2 separate regions of the Homo sapiens genome follow, and region 1 is linked to region 2. Evidence: promoter capture Hi-C in 16 types of primary human blood cells and fetal thymus (Javierre and others, 2016). All regions are on one chromosome and are shown on one strand. The core of a region is centred on a gene start or on the middle of the fragment in contact, and the rest is flanking DNA. Distances in the headings are between cores, read along the strand shown.

The links. The method cuts DNA at HindIII sites, captures the fragments that hold promoters and counts their contacts. A CHiCAGO score of 5 or more calls a contact.
Region 1: a contact is called between a fragment that was not itself captured here and the fragment with the promoter of PRC1-AS1 in region 2, in 1 of 17 cell types (total B cells). The highest score is 5.1, in total B cells.

Annotation. Positions count from the first base shown.
Region 1 is chr15:90,082,613-90,086,204 of GRCh38, forward strand. IDH2 (isocitrate dehydrogenase (NADP(+)) 2) reads right to left here. Exons shown (of 11, transcript NM_002168.4): 8 at 2,663-2,775; 9 at 2,389-2,486; 10 at 2,204-2,296; 11 at 433-1,741. The coding sequence ends at 1,654. Among named protein-coding and RNA genes, the nearest start is that of ZNF710-AS1, 2.2 kb to the left of the region's middle. RefSeq lists enhancers at 1,366-1,866, 1,867-2,367. The HindIII fragment of the contact is 2,375 bases long and covers 838-3,212 here.
Region 2 is chr15:90,964,831-90,968,396 of GRCh38, forward strand. PRC1-AS1 (PRC1 antisense RNA 1) reads left to right here and starts at 1,539. Exons shown (of 4, transcript NR_051984.1): 1 at 1,539-1,848. PRC1 (protein regulator of cytokinesis 1) reads right to left here. Exons shown (of 15, transcript NM_003981.4): 15 at 1,210-2,372. The coding sequence ends at 2,301. The HindIII fragment of the contact is 668 bases long and covers 1,327-1,994 here.

The DNA.
Region 1 (3,592 bases), core at 775-3,274, 880 kb before region 2:
GCAGTCCACGTTTCTTCTTATAGCCCTGAGAGTTTCAGGGCATTACTCAGGAAAAGCAAGCGGGGGGTCACCAGTGTGGATGGAGGGCTAGAGCCCTTCCAAAGCCACTCAGTCTACCGCAATGGTCGGGTTTCAGGAGCCATAGGAGTCCCCCCAGTATTTAGGAAAGGGACTTTGTAAGATGGGGTTTTGAGAGATGGGGTCTCACTCTGTTACTCAGGCTGGAGTACAGTGGTGCAGTCATAGCTCACTACAGCCTCAAACTCCCGGGCTCAAGTGATCCTCCCACCTTGGCCTCCCAAAGTGCTGGGACTATAGGCATGAGCCACCACACCTGGCCAGGACTTTATAAAGATTATACAACTCTTCTCCAGGACATTTTAACACCAAAAAGAAGAAGCTTTGCAGAACTTACTATGCAGAGGACAGTCCTTTTGATTATATGTAGCTTTAGAGCAACTTTTATTTTTCCTTTTTACATGGGGCTAAAAAACTTGCATAGAGCAATTTTTTTTTTTTTTTTTTTTTTTTTTTTTTTGAGACAGAGTCTTGCTCTGTCACCCAGGCTGGAGTGCAGTGGTGCAGTCTCGGCTCACTGCAACCTCTGCCTCCCAGGTTCAAGCCATTTTCCTGCCTCAGCCTCCCGAGTAGCTGGGACTGCAGGTGCGCATCACCACGCCTGGCTAATTTTTGTATTTTGAGTAGAGATGGGGTTTCACCATGTTGGCCAGGCTGGTCTCGAACTCCTGGCCTCAAGTGATCCACCCACCTCAGCCTCCCAAAGTACAGGGATTATAGGCGTGCGCCACTGTGCCCGGCCGAGAACAATTTGTCACAAGCTTACTTTTCTAGTTTTGCCAATGCATGGTGAAAGTGAACCCAAGCCTGGGAACTGCAGGCCTAGACAATGCAGGGCCCTTGTTCACACACACCCAAGCCCCTCCAAACTCAGGCAGCCTTGGAAAGGAGAAGTGTGAGGCAGGTGTGGGTAGGACCTCTTTTTAGTACCTAGAAAAAGGCTAAGAAAGTGGCCTGGAGATGTTTAGAAGGTTAAAACCAACGAAGAAAAAAATCAATGACAACCTATCAGGAACTGATTGACTCTCAGAATGGAGAACTGGACACAGAAACTGGATCATGCTAGAAAATTCCAGGGAACCCACAGGCCTGTGCCCTGAGTGTCCGAGAACTCCGCAGTGGGCCCCTGTGGAATGCGGGCTCCCAGGGCTGCCTGGTCCCTTCCCTGCCGTGGCAGCCCCTTCCTGAGGTGCTCTGGTCTGCCCCAGGGGAACCTGCCAGCTCTAGCAGGGCCTCTGCCTCAGGGTCCCACTACCTCCTCCCCTCAGGGACAAACACAGCAGACAATTTTGTGAAGAGCTTTTTAGTAGCTAAATATGGCACCATGTGTTCCAAGGGCAATATAAATTACAGTATGCAAAACATACTGACTGGCTGAGGTAAAACGCACTGCTCCTGCCTCACGTCACCATGAGGGGAAACACACATATGCTTTTAAAAACATCTGGCTTATAAAAAAACATCCCCTAGAAAGGCCTCCAGAGAGGGGCTGTGAGGCTCACCCTCTGCCGCGCTCAGGAGGACCCGCCGGCTCAGCCCTGGCCCCTCCACTGCAGCCATGGGTGGCGCCTCCCCCTACTGCCTGCCCAGGGCTCTGTCCAGGTTGCTCTTGATGGTGTCGAGGAAGTCCGTGGTGTTCAGGAAGTGCTCGTTCAGCTTCACACTGCAGAGAGAGCACCACTCACATCAGGGGTGGCTCCAGGCCTTGCCAAGGCCATCAGCCAGGCCCTTCCAGGGAACAGCCTGAGCTTGGGCATCAGAACAGCCATCTCCTGCCACCCAGACTACAGGCCAGAGGCCAGCTATAGCCCCCTACCATGAGGCCACCGAGATTCGGCAGGCACCCGCAGGGTCTGTCTTGCCAGGTAACTGCTCTCCTGAGAGAAGCTGGGAAAGGGGTGTGGGCAGGGTCGGAAGGAGCTCTGAGTAGCCAGCCTCAGGGATGGGGAGGAACTCACTAGACCTGGTCTACAGAGGCTGGCCTGAGCAGTCTCTCAGGGCTGTGGACATGTCCTGCCCCAGGCCCCCTTGCAGCTAAGCTGACTCATGAGGGGGACTTTAGGAGGGGTCCCCTGGCTTCCTCCCACATGGCCCCAGGGTCTGCCTACCACCCCAGGCCACGCACTTGCTGAGGCCGTGAATGCAGCCCGCCAGGTCCTTGGTCATGGCTCCACTCTCCACCGTCTCCACGCACACCTTCTCCAGCATCTGGGCAAACCTATGGGGATGGGGCAGAATGAGACCCCATCTGTGCAAGGGCAGGACCCAGAGCCTGTCCTGGGCAGCTCCGGCCTCTCCCTCCATGCTCACCTGATGAGGTCTTGGTTCCCATCCAGCTTCCCCCGGTGCTCCAGGCCACGTGTCCAGGCAAAGATGCTGGCGATGGGGTTGGTGCTGGTGGGCCGGCCCTGGGGACGGGGGTTGCAGGGAGATCAAGAGCCGAGCCAGCTAGTGAGGAGGCTGCCCAGATACAGCTGCCCGCCCCTGGGCTGGTGGGTCAGGCTCGTCCTTCCAGCCCTCAGCCCAGTGGGCTTTAGGCCCCTGGGGTAGAGGGGCATTGTGAGGCCCCATGCCCTGCACTCACCTTCTGGTGCTCCCGATAGTGGCGGGTGACGGTCCCATGAGCGGCCTCAGCCTCAATCGTCTTCCCATCAGGGCAGACCAGGACGGACGTCATCAGGCCAAGGGAGCCAAAGCCTGGAGGGTAGAAAGCCTTTCTCTCAGGGCCTCGCCTCTCCTGGGGCCACCCAGCTGAGCCCTGCTGCCCTCTACAACCCAATATTGTAGCTGCCATAGTTCGTGGCTCTACTCAGCCTCCCCCAGCTGCAACTGGGAGGACAGGGACTGTTCCAGGTCTCTTCACCCTCCTGTGGGTCTCCAGGGCCCAGCACAGGGCTGGAGGGCACTGGAGGGTGGCTATCACCAGCACATTAACATCCATCTGTGTCACCAGCTCCAGGCGCCCCACAGCCTGTGGCCCACAGGGCCCAAGAGGCCACAGAGTCCTGTGGTCCCCCACAGCCTGCCACCCAGCCTGGCTCGTGACCCGGAGGCACATTCAAGGAAAACAATAAAGCTGTGGTCAGCTATTTCCCAACAATCACTTTTGCAGCTACTCTCTTAGGCCACTTTCAAGCTTTTTGATTAATTTCTGAATGCTCCCAAATCCACATGTCAACTCCAGCAAGCTTTTCTATTGTCAAGGACTCCAGGGCTTCAAAGGCACCCCCATGACACCAAAATAAGGATTGAAGAAAGAAAACATGGACAACATCTACAGGAAAATGCTTTGTCTATGAATTCTAAGAATTTTGGCTGTAAGCAATCCCTTCTCCATTTTACCTGCACCTTCACACCATTCCTTAGACACTTAAGGTTCATTTTCATGCCTCTGCCTCATCTGCTATGGCGTTTCATCCTTCTATCCTAGATGGGAATTGTTCGGTGAGAGGATCCCCACTGAACTTTCCAAAGTAAAGCCAAAGGTTTACACAAAGTAACAAGACTCTGCTTT
Region 2 (3,566 bases), core at 289-2,788:
AAAAAAAAAAAAAAAAAAAAAAAAAAAAGAATTATGGATATAAGCAACAATATGGGTAAATCTGAAAGTAGTGAAAGAACCAGACCAAAAAAATATATACTGTATGATTCTACTTACATCGAACTGTAGAAAACGCAAACTAATCTGTAGTAACAAATCGGTGGGCCAGGTACAGTGGCTCATGCCTGTAGTCCTAGCACTTTGGGAGGCCGAGGTGGGCGGATCATGAGGTCAGGAGATCGAGACCATCCTAGCTAATACAGTGAAACCCTGTCTGTCTGTACCAAAAATACAAAAATTTACCAGGCGTGATGGCACGTGCCTGCAGTCCCAGCTACGCGGGAGGCTGAGGCAGGAGAATCCCTTGAACCTGGGAGGCAGAGATTGCAGTGAGCTGAGATTGTGCCACTGCACTCCAGCCTGGCAAGAGCGAGACTCCATCTCAAAAAAAAAAAAAAAAAAAAAAAAAAAAATCAGTGGTTGCTCGGCAGGGTGAGGCTGGGAAGGAGGAGTGAGAAAGGGGTGGGAAGAACTGCTGGGGTAGAGAGACTTGGTTAACTGGACTGTGGCGATGGTTTTTCTCTTACGCTTCACATGTGTGCAGTTTATGTCCATCCTCCTTCAGTAACGCTGTTGAAGTTGGGCAGCCTCCCCATATTGAGACAAACGGCATTGAAGCCAGAAGCATCCTAGGACTCCCTTTGCTCTCTACACATCAGGGGTTAGGTTTTATATTTCTCACCAAAAAATTAGAGTAAGAGATATTCTTAATTTAGAAATGTACCAGAGAATATTTTAAAAATCACACTCGGCCGGGTGCTGTGGCTCATGCCTGTCATCCCAGCACTTTGGGAGGCAGGCAGATCATCTGAGGTCAGGAGTTCAAGACCAGCCTGGCCAACATGGTGAAAGCCTGTCTCTACTAAAAATACAAAAATTAGCCAGGTGTGATGGTGCGTGCCTGTAATCCCAGCAAATCGGGAGGCTGAGGCAGGAGAATCGCTTGAACCTGGGAGGTGGAAGTTGCACTGAACCAAGATAGTGCCACTGTACTCCAGCCTGGGCGACAGAGTGAGACTCAAAAAAAAAAATCACACTCCTGACTAAAAATTTCCAGGAGGTCCTTTTAGTTTTTTGTGTTTGTTTTTCACACACAGACCAACCAACTAAAAAGTGACTGGGGAAAAAAAGGAAACACCACACTATATCTTTTTGAAATGTAAGTATACAGATTTTAATTTATTTTTAAGAATAATTGTATATTTTAAAAACAGGACACGTACTGTATGAGTAAACAGCGTGGCTAACACCAAGTCCACACTGGTAAGCTTTTGAGAACCATTTACACTATGTTGACAGTAGTACTGCTGCAGGCAGACAGCGGAAGAATAAATAATAGTGCTTCAAGAAGAGTAGTGATTGAGAGGATAGGTAAAGAGGGCGCCTCATCGTGGAAGCTAGAGCAGGAACACCTCCCCAGTAGTGACATGTGCAAAGTTCCAGATCTCCACGACAAAGACAGCTCAACCCATTGGAACAAACAGACTCCCAATGTGGCTGGCAACTGCGGGGGTAGAAGAACTCAGGCAAAGTAGGCACAGGAATGGGGGAGATGAGAGCCAAGGGACAAACGCCGAGAAAGCGTTCCGACAAGCATGTGTGTTCATACATGCATACCCCCAACAAAGGGCAATGCACTGTGTAACAGAACTGAACACAATTTAACAAAGCTGCTCCCAGCCTTCCTGTCACCTCTTTGGCAGTAGGGCAGGCCATCTCAACTTCGGACACACAAAGACATTCTCTTCAGGAGGAAGGCTGTCCTGTGTGGTGGGGACAAGGCTTCAGGTAAGAGCAAAGCTATGATAGCTACAGCATTAATTGAACATGCCTAAACAAAAAAGATGTTAATTACTAGTTACAGGTATACATGCCAAAATTACCCCCAGGGATGGGCATAGTCAATCATTTTCCTACAGTGGTGAAATAAAACAAGCTTTGATCATGCTTCAGCAAGTAGAATTATGTGGTAGAGAAGTCAGGCCCCATATGCTAAAATTTGCACTTCTTGCCATAAACTTTTCATGTATATAAGTCAAAACCAAGTCTCCTAGGACCACTAAACCTATGATGGGCTTTCAACTGTAACACTCATTCACATCTTTAAGTTAGGCCCATGGTCATGGAACCTGGCCAAGGTTTCAAGCACGCCTAAGCTGAAGAAAAACTAAAGTCACCCCCATATAATTAGGTCCAGTCTAGGCACAGGAAGCCACAGCTGGTTGACTGATCAGGGCTTCTCAGGACTGGATGTTGGTTGAATTGAGGATTCCAGAAGTAGCATCAGATTTGGAAGCCTTTGAAAGTTCTCGCTGTTGAAAAATAAATAACATCAGTGGCCATACTGCCTCTCTTACACATGGCCCACCCTTCTAAGTTTGGTTAAGTGTCAGCAAAAGGTCCCTTGAAGGTAGTTTCTCTGAGATCCCTAGCCTGCAATAGGCTGCGTTAGGAGTAAAAGGTGAGGAACTCTGAGCACCATTCTATTAGTCACAGACAGAGTGCATGTGCACGCATGCCCGTGACCCCTTTTTCCTCAGCCAGTCCATTCTGTTACACCTCACAGAAGAGAAATCCTTCATACAGTCATGCACTGCATAATGATGTTTCAGTTAACGACAGGCCACATACACTATGGTGGTCCCATAAGATTATACCATATTTTTACTGTACCTTTTCTATGTTTAGATACACAAATACTTACCATTGCGTTACAATTGCCTACAGTATCCCAGGAATAGCCTGAATCAAAAAAACCCACAATTGCCTACAGTATTCTTTCTGTAACATGCTGCCCAGGTTTGTAGCCTAGGAGGAAAACGCCATACCATATAGTTTAGGTGTGTAGGCTGTTCTGTCTAGGACTGTTAAGTACACTCTGATATGTGCACAATGAAATTGCCCCACATTCTCAGAACATATCCCTGTCATTAAGCGAGGCATGACTCTACTTCACAGAGCTACTTTAGAGTTGTCAAGGTAAGTAGGCAACAAGCTTTGGTCTCTTGAGCCCTTTATAAAACAATGGGCCAGAACATATATCTACCAATCCCTGGGGCTGAGGCCTTGTAACCTGCTGGTGATTTGATCTCATGCTGGAGCACATGGTAGAGCAGCAAAAGATAAAGCATGAATGGCTATTGAGAAAGACAGATATTAGCAGAGGTTAGTTTACCGGCTTTGGTGCTGCCTGGTGGAGTCTATCAGCCATAGCAACCCAAACCAGACGAACCTACCTAGGACTAGCCACACAGATAGGCAGGTACATTTAAGCCTCAGATAAAATGGGCCTTGGTTGAACAAGCGAAAAAGAGAAAGCTGGACCTCTGTCCAGCAATCAGCCAGAGTGACACACACCCACTTTTAAAGGTAGAAGCACCACCAGCCACGTAATTTGAAAAACATGCTGGAGTAGGAAGCCAGTTTCAGTGATCAAAACTAGCTGCAGCCTTGGCCAACTGTTCCATTCTCTATCCCTGCAGCAATTAAGAGGGGAGGCAGGCTAG